7 separate regions of the Homo sapiens genome follow, and regions 2, 3, 4, 5, 6 and 7 are each linked to region 1. The links are contacts of gene promoters, found by promoter capture Hi-C in blood cells and fetal thymus (Javierre and others, 2016). All regions are on one chromosome and are shown on one strand. The core of a region is centred on a gene start or on the middle of the fragment in contact, and the rest is flanking DNA. Distances in the headings are between cores, read along the strand shown. Region 1 holds the start of BPIFB4 (BPI fold containing family B member 4). Region 2 overlaps EFCAB8 (EF-hand calcium binding domain 8). Region 3 overlaps BPIFB1 (BPI fold containing family B member 1). Region 4 overlaps EFCAB8 (EF-hand calcium binding domain 8). Region 5 has its middle 6.3 kb from the start of EFCAB8. Region 6 overlaps EFCAB8 (EF-hand calcium binding domain 8). Region 7 holds the start of BPIFB1 (BPI fold containing family B member 1).

Region 1 (2,700 bases), core at 56-2,555:
TCCATCCACTCATCAACTCATTCTCCTCCCTCTATTTATTAATCTGTCCACCCATCCCACCATCCATCCATCTTCCCATATATCTATCATCCATCTGTCATCCAAACAGCTGGCAAGCCATATATCCTCCTGCCCATCCATCTATCCAACCAACCATCCATCCACCCAGCTATCCATCCATCCATCCATTCATCTTTCCATCAGTTTATCTACTCATCAATGCATTCATCTAGCCACCCTTCCACACATCCAGCTCACCAGCAAACACTCTTCCCATCTCTTTGGAGGAGTCAGTTCTACACCACGTGGTTAATATTAATGGCTCTAGGTCAGAGATATCTGGGTCTTAATGCTTAGGAAAGGGACTTTACCTTTTTGAACTTCTGCTCCCAAATCACAAACAAGTTGTATCTCATACATAGTAGACACTCAATAAAGAGCAGCTATTGTTATTACTTTGGGACTGTTATTTCAGACCCCTAAGAAGTGGGTGAGGAATGTTATGAGATTGGGGAGGTGAAACATGCATTTTGGAACGAGCTGCATAGCCTCTGGGAAACTTTCTTTTGCTCCTTTTGTGCCCTCATCCACTTCTCTCACTCCATCAGCCCCGGCTACACATCCACCAACCTCAGAGAGTCAGCACAGGGCATGGCCTCTCATCTGAGCCAAGAAATTGTTGGTTTCAGCCACCTTTGTTTAGGCACACTCTCCTCTTTTTTCTGTCCCCATTTCTCTTGGACTTCACAGCGCCCCCAAATTCTTTCCCTACTCCTATCTGCTCCCAGAAGAATATTAGAGGCATTCATTTACACTAGAATATAAAGGACTACTATATGCAATAATTTTTTTCTGGCTTCCTCACCTCATCCTAACCTCACTTTCCAGAGAGCTGTGTTCAAAAAGGAATCACCCCTTTCAGTTAAAAAGATGGGCACCGATGGAAGATTTCTGGCATCAGCAAACAGCTGAGGAGTCTCCAGGAGGTAGCAAAGGCCCTCGGTACCCAACGTCCCTGGGAAAGATGAGTGCAGCTCTGCGCATGCATGTAATTGGCATAACCCAGGCCTTTTTGCTGATTCCCAAGAGGCTCTCCTGACTAGGCCCATGCTACAGACAAGACCCCTGAACTTGGAGAGGGGCCATCCTGATGGATCTCCAGGCTGGGACTCTCTCTCCTTATTACCTTCCCAGGCCTGTGCCTCCCCTGCCGGACACTGAGTAGACAAGGTGCGCCTCCTTACCCCTAGGAGGTCCCTGCCGCTGAGTCTTGAGAAGTCCTGTTCCCCAGCCCCTCTGCTTTTGGCTGAGTCTGGTCACAGATCAGTCTTATATAGCAGCCTGAGGCTGAGCCCAGACCCCAGAGAGGGAAACACTGTGTAATTACAAGAGACCGGAATTCAGATTTGCTCTGCAAATTGGGCATTGAGCCCCAAAACCATAAAGGTTTGCGGTTTGTGGCTAATTCCAAGACTTGCACTCAGCCCCAGATGGTGTCACATGAGCTGGGTTTTATCAGCCCTTGGGCTGGGCACATTCCCAGAGACCCCAGCTAGGCCTCAAGCTTGGGGAACTGGAATCACCCCCAGATGCATCTAGTTTCTAACTCTAAGGCAGGCACTAGCCATTCCAGATGATCTGGGTAGACAGGAGGTGCCCAGGCTGGACTCAGCATCAGGATGACCCAGGTTCAAACCCTGCTCAACCCCCAACTCACCGTATGACCTTGGGCCAGCCACTTCCCTCCTCTGAGCCTCACATTCTTTCCATCTGGCAAATGAGTATAATACCTGCCTCACAGGGCTGATTTTAGGACTAAAGGAGACGAATATGAATCCAGCTCCTCAAACTTGGGACTGGTGCACGAATGTGCATTTTTTTTATCTGAAAAATATTCCTCACTCATTTCTTAGGGGTCTGAAATAATAGTCCCAAAGTAATAACAATAGCTGCTGTTTATTGAGTGTTTACTATGTATGAGATACAACAAGGTTTTTCCCAACTATTTCCTCATGAAATTTTCATACCTATAGCAAAGGTGAAGGAAATGTACAGCGGACACACATGGTTGTCACGTTGTTCCCACCAACTATACCCACCATTTACATTCTTGTCATATTTGCATCCATCTGTTAGTCCATCTTTTATTTTTTATGCATTTGAAAGTTGCAGACATCAGTATACTACCACTAAACACTTCACCCTGCATGGCATTCAGATTCTTTTCTTTATATCTTTAAATACAGTGACATGCACAAATCTTAAATGTTCATTTGCTGAGTTTTGACCATTTTTTACGGTCATGCAGCCCACACTCCTATCACAATATAGAACATTTCCACCACCCCAGAATGTTCCGTCTGCCTTTTCCCAGTTGCACCCTCCAAAACCTGCTGGGACACAGCCCAGACCACTTCACTTGGCATCCAAGGCCTTCCGTACACACATCCCAGTCCTCTCTTCACACAGAGCTACTCATTCCTTCCATCCCCTCCTCATCACCCCCTGTGCTCCCTGCCTCTGGGCCTTTGCATGTGCAGTCCCTGCTGTCTACAAAGCCCTCTCCAGATTCTAAGGGTGAAAGGTAAGCAGCTGCAGGAAGCTTCCCCCAGCCCCTACAGTTCCTCTGGCCCATCCAGAGATCCCTGGGGCCCATAGTGAAGTGTTGTTTCTCCAGGCGAACCAGCTATGTGCCCCACT
Region 2 (2,700 bases), core at 170-2,669, 130 kb after region 1:
TTTGTGGCATCTCATAAATTTTGAAATGTTACATTTTCATTTTCATTCAGTTCAAAATATTTTCTAATTTCCCTCTGGATTTCTTTTTTTGGCCCATGGGTTATTTAGAAATGTGTCATTTAGCTTCCAAATATTTAGGGATATTTCAAAGATATTTCTGTTTTTGATTTATAATTCAGTTTCATTGGGATCAGAGAACATACTTTGTATGGCATAAATCCTTTTGAGATTAGTGAGATGTGTTTTGTTACCAGAATATGGTCGGTTTAATTAATGTTCTGTGTGCACTTAAAAATAATGTTTGTTTATGAATGATCTATAAATGTTAATTAAGTAAAATTGTTTGATAGTGTTATTCAAGTATTCTATATCATTAATGATTTTCTGTATAGTTGTTTTATAAATTGAGAGAATATTGAAATCTCATGCTACAATCATAGATTATTAAAATTTAAAATAATAACAGATCAAACACCAAATGTTGATGAAGACACAAAGGTAGAAATGCAAAACAGTTTGGTCATTTTTCATAAAGTTTCAATACACTTACCATACAACCCAGCCATTCTGCTTCTAAATACTTACCCAACAGAAATGAAAACAATGTTTAAAGCGGCTTCATTCATAATCATCCAAAACTGACAATGACTCAAATGTCCTATAATTGGTGAATGGATTAACAAACTATGACAGAGCCATACAGTGGAATAATACTCAGCAATAAAAAGAACAAACTACTGATACGTTCAACAACAAAGATGAATCTCAAATTGATTATGCTAAGTGAAAGTTAGACTTTCACTCAGCTACATGTGTATGTTTCCATTTATGATAATCTGGAAAAGGCAAAACTATAGAGACAAACAGATCAATGGCTGCCAGGGGTTAGGAGAAGGAAATAGAGTTTACTATGAGGAGACATGAGGTCACTTTTTGGGGTAATGTCTATGTCTTGATTGTGATACCAATTACACAATTGTATGCATTCATGAAACCTCACAGAACTATATACTTTTAAAAGGTGCTTTTATTGGATGTAAATTATACTTCAGAAATCTGATTTTTAAAACAAGCTTCTAAAAGATAACACTAGATATTATATTTAGGGGATAGTCAAAGACGTCTTTGAAAGATACAAAAAAATGGGTGACATCAGCAAGATGGTAGAATAGGAAGATCCAGAACTTCCTTCTCCCTATGGAGACACTGACTGAACAACAGTACATGGACCAGAAACCAGGACCATTCATCCCAGATGAATGAAAAAACAAACAAACAAAAACCAAAAAAACAAAAAACAAAAAACCAGCTGCACTGAAGCCAGTAGGAAAATTCATAGTGCTCACTTGTAATCCCTCCTCCTGGCTCAGTGAAGCAGATTGGGAAGGAACCACCAGCTTCCAGCTTCTCCCTGGGAGGGAAAGACTGAGATGTACATCCAACATGCAGACTTTTCAGAGGGCTGCATGATTAACCAGTTTCTGTCTTGCCTGAATCTAAGCACTGACAGGAAGAGGCACCAGACTGGGCTACTAAGAACAAAGGTGACAATTTAGACTAGCACACACTATCAGAGTCCCTCCTGCCGCTCTGTGGAATGAGTAGAGAAAACAACCCAACTTCCAGCTTCTCCTTGAGGAGGCAGATTTGGAGCATACATATCCAATGTTAGCCTTTGAGGGGTACCCAAGAAACTGGTTTCTGTCTTGCCTCTCTCAGACTATTGAAGGACCCAGCATATTCTAGAGGCCTGGGGGAAGCTTGTAGCCGCTCTAGAGAACTTGCAGTACTGCAAATAGACACCAGAGAGAGCAAGAGATAATGGACTCCTGAAAAAAATAAACCTGTAGATTCCTGTAATTGCGAATTTACATGCGTAAGTCTGGTGAAAGTATCCACAAAAAAGATTGGGGAGGCACCCAGAATCTTTAGCCAAGCTGATTGGTGCAGAATTTTCCCTGAATGAAGCCAGTATATAAAGACTGGGAGAGGTGGCTGATTTTACAAATGCATGGATCCCAATATAAAGTTATAAGGCACACAAAAAAAATAGGAAAGCATGGCCCAAAGGAACAAAATAAATCTCCAGAAACTGCCGCTAAAGAAATTGAGGTATATTAATTATTTGACAAAGAATTCTAAGTAACCGTAATAAAAATGCTCAACAAGCTCAGGGAAACAATACATGAACAAACTGAGAATATTAGTGAAGACACAGAAAATATAGAAAAGAACCAAACAGAGGCCAGCCATGGTGGCCCACACCTATAATCCCAACACTTTGGGAAGCTTAGGTGGGCGATCACTTGAGCTCAAGAATTCAAGGCCAGCCTGGGCAACATGGTGAAACTCTGTCTCTACAAAAAATACAAAAAATTAGCCAGGCATGATGGCATGCACCTGTAGTCCCAGCTACTCAGGAGGCTGTGGGAAGATCACTTGAGGCTGGGAGGTCAAGGCTTCAGTGAGCTGAATTCGTGCCACTGCACTCAACCCTGGGTGGCAGAGCAAGACCCTGTCTCAAAAAATAATAATAATAATAATAAAAATAACAGAAATTCTAGAGCTGAAGATGAAGAGTAAAATAATTGAATTCAAAAGTCATCTACAGCAGGCTTGATCAAGCAGAAGGAAAAATCAGCAGACTTGAAGATATCCAGTCAGAGAAGCAAAAAAGAAAAAAGAATTTTAAAGAGTAAA
Region 3 (2,700 bases), core at 62-2,561, 220 kb before region 1:
GTTTAGAGCTATGTCAGAGGCAGGGTCTATTAGAGGAGGGAGTGAGATCTCCATTAAACTGAGCCTGATGGAGGATTCCTGCTTAGGGGCACCCTGTGTTCAGGAAATTCCTATGATGTGGCCTGGGCGGCCCTATTCTCTGCCTTGTGCTGAGGTTTACCACAGAGTCCAACAGGACCATGAATTCTTCTGGAGAGAGCACAGCAGCCACTGCAGCTTTCACCACGTCCTGACTCACGATGAGGCTGAACGGGATGTTGTCCAGGGTGGGCATTGTCAGGGAAGCTGCAGAGTTATTGAACCACTTGGTCACCTTTCCCTGTGAGTCCAACAACTTGGCCTGAGGAGACAGAGCAGGGAGTCAGCTAAGAATTTTAACTCTGCAGCTTACCCAATAGCAACCTAGAAGGAAATGACACCATTCAGCCTGTTTCCTTTTTGTGCATTTGTTGCCAGGAAGCTTAGCCTGGAGCTCAGGTGTGTGGCAACATCTACTCCATCTTTGCCCCTCGGATAATCTCTGACTTTTATTTTTTGTACCAGATATCTTCGTTTTTTTTCCCATGCTTCAACTTCTCAGACACCTCAAACCCTTTGGATGGAGGGAAAATTAAAAACTACAACAAAATGGAAGAAACGATTTGATGCTGCAGTTTTCCAAAGGATCCATAGAAACTAGTCCAGGGGCCAGGCGTGTTGGCTCATGCTTGTAATCTTAGCACTTTGGGAGGCCGAAGTGGGAGGATCATTTGAGCCCAGGAGTTTGAGACCAGCCTGGGCAACATGGCGGAACCCCATCTTTACAAAAAATACAGAAAATTAGCCAGGCGTGGTGGCGAGTGCCTGCAGTCCCAGCTACTCAGGAGGTTGAGGTGAGAGGATCGCTTGAGCCCAGGAGGTCAAGGCTGCAGTGAGCTGTGATGGCACCACTGCACTCCAGCCTGGGTGACAGAGTGAGACTCAGTCTCAAAAAAACAAAACAAAAGAAACCTAGTCTGGGATTCATGCTACCAGGATGGTCTGGCCCTTTGGGGCGTCCAGCCACAGCATGGCTGTGCAGCTCCACATTGGACAGGGAGCTGACAGTTACTGGGCACTTCTGGTCTGCCAGGCATGGTGTGGTCTCATTTCATCCTCTCCTCAGTGGCCATTATTACTGACATTTTGCAGACAAGGAAACTGAGGCTCAGGGAGGTAAAGGAACTTGCCCAAAGTCACATAGCCAGGGAATCATAGAGCTAGGAGAGAAACTTAGGTCTGTGTTTCTTGATCCTTGGCTTTTGTTTCAAGGTTGTCATAGGTTTGGGGATTGGCAGGGACTTGCCTGAGAGAAAGGCTGAGGGCCCAGTGTCCCCACTCGGGCCCCCCCATGTCACTCTGGGTGACAGTGAGACTCAGTCTCAAAAAAACAAAACAAAACAAACTTGCATGGGACATATTCAGCCTGCAGTGATTTTTCTAGATCAGCCCGTGTCCTAATGGTGACCAGGATTTTCTCTCCTAACACAGGCCCATGCTATCTGACTCCTGGTGGTCAGAGAAGGGCAGCAATGTCCCCACTTCACCCTCAAGGTCCTGGGACACTCACCCCCAGGTAGAGCTGAATGGTGTCACCCTTGATGGCAGGATACAGAAGGTCAAACTCCAGACGGTCAATGCTGAGGGAAATGGGCACTGCTCAAGGACAAGAAGAAAGTTCTGTGAGGGTGGAGGGCAGTATTGGAGGGGGAAGTTGGGGGGCTGCTTCCAGGTGGAGCTGTACTGTTGCATGGGGGGGCAGGTAGGGAGGAGCAGGTAATAATGATGTTGATAATAATGATGCAAACAGTGATGACAGTGACATTTATCGAGCATCCACTAAGTGCCAGGCCTCTGCATGTCAGCTGGTTCATCTGCATGATAACGTTAGGAAGTAGGTCTTATTATTACCCCCTTTTACAGATGGTGAAACCAAGTCTGAGGAAAGGGAAATGACCTGTTCAAAGCCATACTATGAGAGCATGGGAACCCAGTCGGTTTTATGCCAAAGTCCCGGTTTGGAACGGAACTGAACTATTGTATGTAACACTCCACCGCCCCTACCAGACTGAAAGCCGCGTCCCCCATGCAGGTGGTTCTGGGTCTGGACACCCTATGAGCACCTGGATCTCAAGGAAGCTTAGGCTGGAAGCCAGAGGCCTGGTAACATCTACTCTGAAATCCAAACTGGCTCCTCTGCTCCCCCCAAAGATCTCGTGTTCGCGTCAGAATTCCCCACTTGGCCGCCAGGTGGCGGTGGTGTGTCACCTGCCCCGGTGTATGGCCGAGGATGGGGAGTGCTGGAGGGCCAGGGACCGGCCGCCTACCGCTCCAGGGAGACCTCCGGGCCCGTCCTCGGGGCAGCGGAGGAGCCAGCTGGACTTCGGTTTGAGCCCCAGTGACCTTGGCTGGTCTCTTCTCGCGTCTGAATCTGTTTCCTCGTCTTAAAATGAGGGTATAGTGCCCGCCAGGGCAGCACATGTACTAAAATCGGAAGGACATAGAGACGATGAGCATGACTCCTGTAAAAATTACTTTAAAAAAAGAAAAAAGGTCCGTCTCCAAAAAAAAAAAAAAAGTATATTAAAGTCAATAAGGTCCCCGAAAATGGCTATAACAACAACAAAAAAATGTGATTTACAAAGAGAAATCTACAGACTTGTCAACAAAATGTAATGTGTG
Region 4 (2,700 bases), core at 55-2,554, 150 kb after region 1:
GCCACTGTCACATGGTGCTGAGGGACCTCAGCAAGTCACCACACCCACCTGGTCCCCCAGTTTCCTAGATGCCCAGTGAAAGTGGTGATGGTGGTCCCACCCTTCCTCCCCAGCTGGTGACAAGGAACGTCATACTCGACTATGAACTACTAGAGGGCAGGGATTTTGCGTCTTTTTTGTTCACTACTTTGTCCTTAGTAACCACAATGGTGCCTGACACATAATACATGATCAATAAATGTTTATCAAATGAAGGCTTACAAGTTTGATTCGACATAGGCTCAGACAAGATTTTCACAACCTGTAACTCAACCCAAAGTGATGTGGGGAAGGAACTCATTCCCCTTCATGTATATCTATAGTGAAATATCCATATTTTCCAGCCAATCATCAAGAAAGCATTTTAAACAAATTCTTGTTCAAGACTTGTTTTGATCATGCCCTTTGCTAATTCCTCACTCTGCTCACTTTTCCCTTACATGTCACACCTGTGGCCCATGTGGGGGCCACAGTGGGAAGTTACTCTGCATGGCAAGCATGAGAAGAAAGTTTCTTGCCTGGCACCCAGCAGGAGGCTGAGAGCATAGTGAGGGTGGTAGAGCAAATCAGGCCAGAAGGGGGAAATTGGAAGCTTCCTCACTCCTGCTCAGAACTTTACAGTGTAATAGCTTATGTGTCCCCAAAACATGTCACCAACAACAAAAATCTCGATTATCAAAAATCTCATGGTGGCTCATACCTGTAATCCTAGCACTTTGGGAGGCCGAGGCGGGTGAATCACTTGAGCCCAGGAGATCGAGACAGCCTGTGCAACATAGTGAGACCCTATCTCTATTTAAAGAAAAAAAAAAAAAAACAGAAGGGAAGAGAAGCGGAGGGGAGGGGAGGGGAGGGGAGGGAAGGGAGAAAAAAGAAAAGAAAGAAAAGAAAAGAAAGAAAAAAATCTCAATTATCCTTATTGTTGTAGAAATCCGAAATTAGTTGTTCAACCTGCTTCCCACTGGCCCCGGTGCCAGGGTCAAAAACCAGAAGTCCCTTGTGCCCAAAGCTTGATGGCTTCACCAGTGAATTCTACCAAACATTTAAGGAAGAATGAATGCCAATCCTTCCCAAACTTTTCCAGAATACTGAAGAGGAGATAACACTTCCTAACTCATTCTATGAGGCCAGCATTACCCTGATATCAAAGTCAGACAAAGACATTATAAGAAAAAAAAAAAGACTACAGAGAAATATCCCTTATGAACACTGATATTTAAAAATTATCAAAAAAATTAGCAAACTGCATTCAGTAGCATATTAAAAGGATTATATACCATGACCAAGTGACTTTTATTCCTGGAATGCAAGGATGATTCAACATATAAAAATCAATAAATATACCACCTTCACAAAAAAAGAAAAAAACCCACACGATCATCTTAATTGATGCAGAAAACGATTTGACAAAATTAAAAAAAAAAAATAGGAATAGAAGGACATTACCTAAACATAATAAAAGCCATATATGAAAAACCCACAATGAATATCACACTCAATAGTAAAAGACTGAAAGCTTTTCCTCTGGAATTAGGAACAAGGCAAGAATGTCCACTTTTGCCACTTTTATTCAACAGAGTACTGGAAGTTCTGCCAGAGGGATTAGGCAAAAAAAGAAATAAAAGGTATCCAAACTGGAAAGAAAGAAGTAAAATTATAAGTTTGCAGATGATATTATCTTATATGTAGAAAACGCTAAAGCTCCCACACCAAAAAAAAGGGGCTAACAAATGAATTCAGCAAAATGGCAGGATACAAAGTCAACACATAAAAATCAGTCGCATTGGCTGGGTGCGGTGGCTCATGCCTGTAATCCCAGCACTTTGGGAGGCTGAGGCAGGTGGATCATGAGGTCAAGAGTTCGAGACCAGCCTGGTCAACATGGTGAAAGCCCGTCTCTACTAAAAAATACAAATATTAGCCAGGTGTGGTGGCATGCACCTGTAATCCCAGCTACCCATGAGGCTGAGGCAGGAAAATCACTTGAACCTGGGAGGCAGAGGGTGCAGTGAGCCGAGATCGTGCCATTGTACTCCAGCCTGGGCGACAGAGCAAGACTCTGTCTCAAAAAAAAAAAAATAAAAAATCAGTTGCATTTCTATACACTAACGTTGAACAATCTGAAAAGGAAATTACAAAAATAATTCCATTGACAATAGTGTCAAAAAAAGAGTAAAATACTTGGGAATTAATCAAAGAGGACATTATGCTAAGTGACATAAGCCAGTTACCAAAAGACAAACATATGATTCCACTTGCATGAGGTAGAATAGTCAAAATCATAAAGACAGAAAGTAGAATGGGGGTTTCCAGGGTTTGGAGGGAGAGGGGAGTGGGAGTTATTTTTTAATGGGTATAGTTTCAATTTAACAAGATGAATGGATAGTGGTGATGGCTGCACATTATGAATATATTTACTACCACTGAACCATACACTTAAAAATGGTTTCAATGGTAAATTTTATGTTATGTGTATTTCACTACAAGAAAAATTTTTTGAAAAAAAGAAAAAACAGGAATCCCTGAACCAAAGACAAAGGGCAAGCATTTCCCCCACTTTATGCAAGTGCTCACTGTACAAAATGTGGGCAGCATAGACATATGAAAGGAAATTAAAATCACCTACAAAATCCCAGTACCCAGAAATAATCACCATTAAGA
Region 5 (2,700 bases), core at 112-2,611, 230 kb after region 1:
TAATCCCAGCACTTTGGGAGGCCGAGGCAGGTGGATCACCTGAGGTCAGGAGTTCCAGACCAGCCTGGCTAACATGGCAAAACCCCGTCTCTACTAAAAACACAAAAATTAGCTGGGTGTGGTGGTGGGCGCCTGTAATCCCAGCTACTCTCGAGGTTGAGGCAGGAGACTCGCTTGAACCCAGGAGGCGGAGGTTGCAGTGAGCCAAGATGGCACCACTGTACTCCAACCTGGGCAACAAGAATGAAACTCTGTCTCAAAAAAAAAAAAAAAAAAAAAATTAGCCAGCCAGGCATGGTGGTGTGCACTACAGTCCCAGCTACTATGGAGGTTGAGGTGGGAGGACAGCTGAAGCCCAGGAAGTTGAGGCTGTCATGAGCCATGACTGTGCCACTGCACTCCAGCCTGGGTGACAGGAGACCCTGTCTCAAAAAAACAAAAACAAAAACAATACATAATTTGGCTGAAGTCATCTAGGTTAATGGTTCTAACTGCAGTCAAGTTCAATGTAAAAGTACACAATCCCTTCAGGCTTTCAGAGAAAACCCTGAACACTCAGTTATACCCTCGCATGTGAAAATGAAGAGAAAAAAAGCAGCAAGCGTCATGAAGATACAGAAATAAATATGAACTCATCTGGTTTTGACATTTTACAAACTAAATGTGTGAATCCAAAAGTATGATATCAAGCAGGGAGTGGTGGCTCACACCTGTAATCCCAGCACTTTGGGAGGCCAAGACAGGTGGATCACTTGAGGCCAGGAGTTCGAGACTACCTTGGGCAACATGGCAAAACTCCATCTCTACTGAAAATACAAAAATTAGCCAGGCATAGTGGCACAGGCCTGTAATCCCAGCTACTCAGGAGGCTGAGGTACGGGAACTGCTTCAGCCTGGGAGGTGGAGGTTGCAGTGAGCCAAGATCGTGCCACTGCACTCCAGCCTGGGTGACAGAGCAAGACTGTCTGGGGAAAAAAAAAAAAAAAAAAAAAAGACATATTACAACAGTGCCAGACCAGAAAAATGACGGGTGGTTCACAACACTGATCACAGACTGAGGTTCAGCTTGTTTCAAAGCAATGTTCTCTGTTGTCAACAATCAGATTTGGGTCACCCACATGCTAGCAAGCTAATCTGACTAGGCTGATCAGGCCTAAAGCTTGGATTTTTATTTGTGGACTTTGCAATGAACTATGGTCAACATCACAAAAGGAGTCCTTTATACTCAATCTTCTAAAACAATCCTTAAAAGAAAAACTACAGAGGATCACCTTGGCTAGGGCAAAAGAAAAATGCTTCCTTTTCAAAACCCTTCACATTCTAGAGAGTAAATCTTGAAGAAAATATGGGTTTTTAATCAATGAATCTGAGACATTGAATCTTCATTTAAAAGAAAACAAAAACAGGATAAACATAAGAGCCTGAAGACATAAGGGAGTTCTACTTGTCCATATACCATGCTGAAAAGGAAATACTTTGGGTGTATTTTACAAAACACCCAAAGCCTGTCTGAAGGAATGCCCTTCCGAATTCTGAGGATACAAAAGCCCTGTCCTAAGCTTTTTCTAATCTATAAACAGAATTTCAGACCAGATCTGAAGAACTTGTGCCATAAATAATGCCTCTTGTCTGTACAGAGCTTTTTAGCTTTGTGGTGCTGTTTTTTTTTGGTCCATCAGCTCCTTCTAATCCCAACAAGTACCCAGTGAGGGAGGCACGTCAGCCAAAATCATCATCTCTGTCTTGCATGTAAGAACAAGAGAGGTCAAATAGCTCAAAACTCACAAAGCAGGAGAGACCTGCAAGAGGACTCAAGTCTGATGTTCCCCTTGCCAGAATTATTATTTAAAATTGCAGACATGTAGATAAGGCCCAAATTAAAATGCAGGTTTTCAACCTCCAAACTCAGAATCTCTGGTGATGAATTTTTATAAATACATTATGTCAAACAAGTTCCCCATGTGATTCTGAAGCCCATCAGTTTGAGAATCATCAGCATGAACAATGATCCAAATTGAGCCAGAGAACCCATTTGTTTACCTATCCTTCATGAAACACAGAACCTGCCAAGCAAACCAAGCAGCAAAGACTGTATGTGCTTCAAATTCAAGAGCCAGGTCAATGCACTTGGTCAGATACCCACAGTTTTGGCTTCTCTCTTTACCAAGGTAACTTCTCAATTGACAGTAGCCAACAGTATCTTCACAAACTCCTTGCACTCCTGGAAGGTATCTTCTTGTAGATGACCAATACATATGGTGTCAAATTCCTTCTGAAGGTATTTAACACTTTAAGGGAGGTATCATACCATTAACTATGGGTGCAACCCTTGTCAAGATCATCAGGTTGGGTTTATAGAGCATCCATAACCATGACTCTACATATCCTACAACACACTATCTCTGCCCATTTAACTTTATTTCTGACAGAAAATGGCAGCAAGTCTCCTTTTGAACTCATTTCTAATAGCATATAATTTTATAAGGGAGAAAAAAATGGTGACAATTTTAGATTATTTTATAGATTAAGATCATGTTAACTGACTTTGAAACATACTTTCAGGGCTGGGTGCAGTGGCTCACACCTGTAATCCCAGCACTTTAGGAGGTCAAGGTGGGAGGATCACTTGAGCCCAGGAGTTCAAGACAAGCCTGGGCAACATAAGGGGACCCCATCTCTACAAAAAATACAAAGTTTAGC
Region 6 (2,700 bases), core at 52-2,551, 200 kb after region 1:
GATGGGATCAGATGAGAGGCTGCATTTGGTGCACCCGGCCCAGGCTCAGTAAAGGTAAGCCAATGTTTTAAGTTACTCTTTCATGAAGGTAATTAAATATTACTCATTTATTTTCCCCACCAAGTTGGAAATGCTCTCCGGGTTTGTAGGTTGAACAAATAAATAGGAGAATATAGGAACAAGCCTCTTGACATTCTGTTTCAGGACCTTTAAACACCCTTGAGATCTAAATGGCCCAAAGAAATAGAAAGACCTGACCGGGCAGAGTGGCTCACGCCTGTAATCCCAGCACTTTGGAAGGCTGAGGTGAGTGGATCACTTGAGGTCAGGAGGATTACTTGAGGTCAGGAGGCGGGCAGACCACTTGAGGTCAGGAGTTCAAGACCAGCCCGGCCAACGTGGTGAAACCCCATCTCTACTAAAAATACAAAAATTAGCCAGGTGTGGTAGCACACGCCTGTAGTCCCAGCTACTCAGGAGGCTGAGGCAGGAGAATCGCTTGAACCCGGGAGACAGAGGTTGCACTGAGCCAAGATTGCGCCACTGCACTCCAGCCTGGGTGACAGAGTGAGACTCCGTCTCCAAAAAAAAAAAGAAATAGACCAGTGAAGGCTTGACCTTATTAAGCAATGTGTTCATGCCAAAATGTACAGTTATGTATTTGAACATACTTCATGTTCAAATGGTTGCTTTTATCTGATTGTATCATGGGAATGAACACTATATCTAATTAGGGAATGTCTCCCCTTCCTACTGCTATAAAACAGAGGTATGTAAATCGCCATTCAAGCTATATGAACTGGACATGCTACATGGGAACCAGTAAGATTGCCCAGGCCCACACAGTGCAGAGTAGAAGCTAGAGAGCTGGCAGGGACAAATTCTCCACTGGATAGCCCTCTGTGGAGCATTTCCTGGGGCTTACGACAAAAGCCTGTAAGCGCCTCCCGGCAACAGCTACTGGGACTTTGGACTAGGGAATGTCCTCTTGAGGGGCATTTACTACCTTGTTATGGGACATTAACTGAAGCTACCCCTACGACTGAAGGATATAAAATTATCTTGAAACCTGAAATACCCAGATGTCTTGGGTGATATCAGAGAAATGCTCTAATGGGGCCTACAGAGGCCAGAAATTCCATAATAAAATGGAAATGGTTGGCCAGGCGCAATGACTCACACCTGTAATACCAGCACTTTGGGAGGCCAAGGCAGGTGGATCACCTGAGATCAGGAGTTCAAGATCAGCCTGGCCAATACGGTGAAATCCCGTCTCTATTAAAAATACAAAAACTAGGCCAGGCGCGGTGGCTTACGCTTGTAATCCCAGCACTTTGGGAGGCCGAGGCGGGCAGATCATGAGGTCAGGAGATTGAGACTATCCTGGCTAACATGGTGAAACCCCGTCTCTACTAAAAATGCAAAAAAATCGCTGGGCATGGTGGTGGGCGCCTGTAGTCCCAGCTACTCGGGAGGCTGAGGCAGGAGAACGGCATGAACCCGGGAGGCAGAGCTTGCAGTGAGCCGAGATTGCACCACTGCACTCCAGCCTGGGCGACCGAGCAAGGCTCTGTCTCAAAACAACAACAACAACAACAAAAAATCGGCCAGGCGTGGTGGCGGCCACCTGTAATCCCAGTTACTCGGGAGGCTGAGGCAAAAGAATCACTTGAACCCAGGAAGTGGAGGTTGCAGTGACCTGAGATGATGCCACTGCATTCTAGCCTGGGCCACAGAGCAAGACCTTGTCTCAAAAATAAAATCCCAAAAAATAAATACAATAAAATGGAAATGGTTTACTCAGCATCTTGCTACCTGGGGAATGCAAGCAAGAGATACTCACAGGCTATGAGCCTCTTTACCCCAGGACTGATTCCGGAACTGTGTGAGGTGCTGCTGGGTTCTGTCGACACTTGGACAGTGTGCCGTGAACAGCTATCAAGTGACCAACGAGGAAATGCTGGGTTTACAGTTTCAAAGTGAATGGACGATATTCTGTTTGGAGGGCTGCCACTTGCAGCAAAGAAGGTAGAAACTGATCAGCCTCAGTGGGCTGAATTGCATTTGCATGCTGTTTTTTTTTTTCTTTTTGAGACGGAGTTTTCATTCTTGTTGCCCAGGCTGGACAGCAATGGCGCAATCTCGGCTCACTGCAACCTCTGCCTCCTGGGTTCAAGCAATTCTCCTGTCTCAGCCTCCCGAGTAGCTGGGATTACAGGTGCCTGCCACCACATCCAGCTAATTTTTGTATTTTTAGTAGAGACAGGGTTTCACCATGTTGGCCAGGACTCCTGACCTCAGGTAAGCCACCCACCTTGGCCTCCCAAAGTGCTGGGATTACAGGTGTGAGCCACCATGCCTGGGCAGGGATAATTTCTAAGCAAGAAACAGTCACCATGTTTTAAAACGTTGTCAGAATTCCCTAAGGGCCTGATGGGGGTGGATTGCGCCTTCATCCCATCTGGCAAAATGGGGGTTAAAAATAAATACAGCTATATTGTCTCATGGTAAAAATGGCTCGCGAGTTTGGAACTCGTGTAACCCTATTCTCTATGAATGAGAATGGACTGAGGGGAGGCACTCGCTACAGTAGCTTTGCTACCAATGATCCAGATAGGCACAGTGGCTGAACCCGATGTCCCTTGCAAAGGAGGAAAAGTTTGGGTAAAAATAAATGACAAATGGAGAAAAGGAGGAATA
Region 7 (2,700 bases), core at 101-2,600, 200 kb before region 1:
AACTGGTATGTGCAGAGTGGGTTTATGTCACTAGGAAGAGGTCAGGAAAACACTCAGCCAGCCCCATCCCTTCGTCACTGCCCTTTGGTCCTCTGGGCGAGGGAGCTGGGCATCTCTCTACACCTGGCCCTGACCCTCAGCGGATCCTGACTCACCGAGGGCCCTTCCCTGAGGGCGAGCCTCCCCTGTGCTCCTGACCTGACCCCAACAGGTATCTCTAGCTCAGAACCTTCCTGGCAACCTTGGCTTTCAGCCCCTTCCCTACTTTTACCTGGGCACGCTGGAGTCCTCGGCCCGCTCCTCTCCTCTCCCGGGCAGTGGGTCTGGAAGTCCAACCTTATATCCTGCACACCCCAGCACAGGCTTTGTCTTTAGGCAGAGGCCTCAGACCAGGCCGAGGTCTCCAAGGTAAATATTTGTGGCTTCTGCTGAACCACAGCCCCGCCCGGAGGCAGCCTTGGGACTCCAGCTTCCTGAGGTTTGGAGAAAGGAAGGTCCAGGCTGAGAGAAGCACAGTGCATATAGCAGAATAAGCACTCCATAAATGTGAGTGGCCGTTGCCATTAATATTATTATTGCTTATAATAGGATGAGCCTTTGTAGAGGGATTACAACAATTGTTTAATCCAGATAATCAATTTGGGAAAAGGAAGGAGTAGCCTTACCCACCCCTTATTCCTAAATACATCAAAGATACACATCTCCATCAATTAATTCACCCAGGAGAATAGATTTGAATCCTATTTTTGCCACTGCTTTGCTGTGTGCCCTTGGGCAAGGTACTTCACCTCTCTGGGCCCCAATGACCTCATCTATAGCATGGGGATAATAGTAGCTCCTCCTCATAGGTTGTTAAGAGCATGAGTTGAAGTGCATGCCTACACAGTGCTTAGCATGGGCTTTCATTTCATTCATTCATTCATTCCGCAGCAATTAAAATCTGCTCTACCTTGTCTGCATCTTTAGGAATCTCCATGAGCACTTGTGGACCAAAAGAATAAGGAGGGATGACCATGAACCTAAAGGACAAATGTCAGAGCCCAGCAGGACGCTGTCATCCACCACCTGGGCCCAGGTCTTGGCTCACGCAGCCTGCACAGTCACCCAGAGGTGGGCATCAGCAGCGTTAATGTTACAGAGGGCACCTGAGGCTCAGAGAGGCGAGTGACTTGCTCAAGGTCACATGACCAGGGATTCCAGCTTTGGGACCTGAACCCGATCATCAGTCCAGACCGGACCCTCTTAACCGCCACACTGTCCTTCCCCTGAGACTTCAATTTAGCACTGGAGGTGGTGGTGACACCAACATGGCCTTTTGATGTCATCTGGGGAATTATCCTTGCTACCCAGTTTTTGTCTAGAAGAATGGAATTGTGGTTTAGAGCTGGGATGGCCATTGTTGAATCCTGTCTCCATCTGCAGCAGACAAGTCAGGGGCAGTAAGTGTTCTGAGGTCACAAAGTACGTGGCCAGGCCCTGGCTGGTCTCTTCCTCCTGCTTTTTGACAAGAAGAACAAGGTGAAGAGCGTTTGCTGTCCTGCCATGTTTGCAAACACACCAAAAGCCCTGAATACCTAAAGGTGAGGTGTTTTGAGAGAGCTCTTGGGAGGACCCTGCCGATCCCTTGGGCACATCTCCAGAGAGGCAAATGCCCCTGCTTGGCTTCCCAGCTGGCCATGCCCACTGCCCATGGACAATGACCCTCTGTGCGGTGCTCGGGCCCAATGCCAAGACCTGGGGCCGCATCAGCTCCTGCTTCCTGCCACGTGCTGGGACAGCAAAGCTGGCTGCATCTCTGCAGGCCCATGGTCCCCAGACTCCACACCTGCCCTCAGTACCGCGTGGCCCCTCCTCAGGTTGCTGGCGTCTCTTGGCCTTGGCTCCACCTCTCTTCAGCTCCCAGGCCTTTTTGTGCCGTGTCCTCTTTCTGGAGTACCTCCTTCACCCTCCTGAAAACCTAATTGTGCCCTGTCTGGGAAGAAGCGCAGGAGTGCAGGAGGAAGCCTGTGGAGGCCGACAGACACGGCTCAGATTCCTGCTCCTATACTGACAGCTGTCAGCCTTGGGAAAATTGCTTCTTCTCTATGAGACTGTTTCCTCCATTGTGAAATGGGACTATTTTGAGGGTCTCGTAAGGTCATGAGAAATGCTTGAAACATCAGAGAATTCAGCAAGTGGTAAATTCACACCTGTAATACCAGCATTTTGGGAGGCAAATACTGGTGGATTACCTGAGGTCAGGAGTTTGAGATCAGCCTGGTCAACATGGTGAAACCCTGTCTCTAAAAAAAAAAAAAAAAAAAAATTAGACGGGCATGGTTTTTAGGTGGCACGTGCCTGTAGACCCAGTTACTCAGAAGGCTGAGGCAGGGGAACCACTTGAACCCAGGAGGCAGAGGTTGCAGTGAGCCAAGATCGCACCACTGCACTCCCGCCCGGGCTACAGAGCAAGACTCTGTCTCACACACACAAAAAAGAACGCAACATCTGCATAAAGCTGCCTGACTGCTGCTCCACCTGGCCTGGATGTCCTCTTCCCAGCATGTTTGGCTGCTGGCCACCTTTCAGCCCTCACCTCTCTCTACTTCATCCCTCGCTCCTCTCACTCCCACCCCAGGGCCTGCGCACATGCTGGCCTTATCCCAGGAGCGCTCTCCTTCCAGCTCTCATTCTGGCTTCTTCTAATTCACCAAGTCTCAG

The links. The method cuts DNA at HindIII sites, captures the fragments that hold promoters and counts their contacts. A CHiCAGO score of 5 or more calls a contact.
Region 2: a fragment that was not itself captured here is called in contact with the fragment with the promoter of BPIFB4 in region 1 in 2 of 17 cell types (megakaryocytes and endothelial precursors); the score reaches 8.7 in megakaryocytes.
Region 3: a contact is called between a fragment that was not itself captured here and the fragment with the promoter of BPIFB4 in region 1, in 6 of 17 cell types (M0 macrophages, endothelial precursors, M1 macrophages and 3 more). The highest score is 7.0, in M0 macrophages.
Region 4: a contact is called between a fragment that was not itself captured here and the fragment with the promoter of BPIFB4 in region 1, in 4 of 17 cell types (non-activated CD4 T cells, activated CD4 T cells, megakaryocytes and 1 more). The highest score is 5.7, in non-activated CD4 T cells.
Region 5: a fragment that was not itself captured here is called in contact with the fragment with the promoter of BPIFB4 in region 1 in 1 of 17 cell types (megakaryocytes); the score reaches 5.6 in megakaryocytes.
Region 6: a contact is called between a fragment that was not itself captured here and the fragment with the promoter of BPIFB4 in region 1, in 2 of 17 cell types (megakaryocytes and activated CD4 T cells). The highest score is 5.7, in megakaryocytes.
Region 7: a contact is called between a fragment that was not itself captured here and the fragment with the promoter of BPIFB4 in region 1, in 1 of 17 cell types (M0 macrophages). The highest score is 5.0, in M0 macrophages.

What each region holds. Positions count from the first base shown.
Region 1 is chr20:33,078,248-33,080,947 of GRCh38, reverse strand. It overlaps BPIFB4 (BPI fold containing family B member 4), which reads right to left and starts at 1,305. Exons shown (of 18, transcript NM_182519.3): 1 at 1,245-1,305; 2 at 372-479. The HindIII fragment of the contact is 19,838 bases long and covers 1-1,566 here.
Region 2 is chr20:32,944,999-32,947,698 of GRCh38, reverse strand. The region is part of intron 23 of EFCAB8 (EF-hand calcium binding domain 8); the gene reads right to left. Among named protein-coding and RNA genes, the nearest start is that of SUN5, 58 kb to the left of the region's middle. The HindIII fragment of the contact is 687 bases long and covers 1,076-1,762 here.
Region 3 is chr20:33,298,873-33,301,572 of GRCh38, reverse strand. BPIFB1 (BPI fold containing family B member 1) reads right to left here. Exons shown (of 16, transcript NM_033197.3): 8 at 1,589-1,674; 9 at 161-340. It overlaps LOC105372594 (a long non-coding RNA gene), which reads right to left. Exons shown (of 2, transcript XR_936685.3): 2 at 1,720-2,502. Among named protein-coding and RNA genes, the nearest start is that of BPIFB1, 17 kb to the right of the region's middle. The HindIII fragment of the contact is 1,697 bases long and covers 463-2,159 here.
Region 4 is chr20:32,927,659-32,930,358 of GRCh38, reverse strand. The region is part of intron 20 of EFCAB8 (EF-hand calcium binding domain 8); the gene reads right to left. Among named protein-coding and RNA genes, the nearest start is that of EFCAB8, 70 kb to the right of the region's middle. The HindIII fragment of the contact is 507 bases long and covers 1,051-1,557 here.
Region 5 is chr20:32,851,249-32,853,948 of GRCh38, reverse strand. No RefSeq gene overlaps it. Among named protein-coding and RNA genes, the nearest start is that of EFCAB8, 6.3 kb to the left of the region's middle. The HindIII fragment of the contact is 400 bases long and covers 1,162-1,561 here.
Region 6 is chr20:32,881,591-32,884,290 of GRCh38, reverse strand. The region is part of intron 5 of EFCAB8 (EF-hand calcium binding domain 8); the gene reads right to left. Among named protein-coding and RNA genes, the nearest start is that of EFCAB8, 24 kb to the right of the region's middle. The HindIII fragment of the contact is 4,347 bases long and covers 1-2,700 here.
Region 7 is chr20:33,280,826-33,283,525 of GRCh38, reverse strand. It overlaps BPIFB1 (BPI fold containing family B member 1), which reads right to left and starts at 312. Exons shown (of 16, transcript NM_033197.3): 1 at 272-312. RefSeq lists enhancers at 1,239-1,739, 1,740-2,240. The HindIII fragment of the contact is 5,854 bases long and covers 1-2,700 here.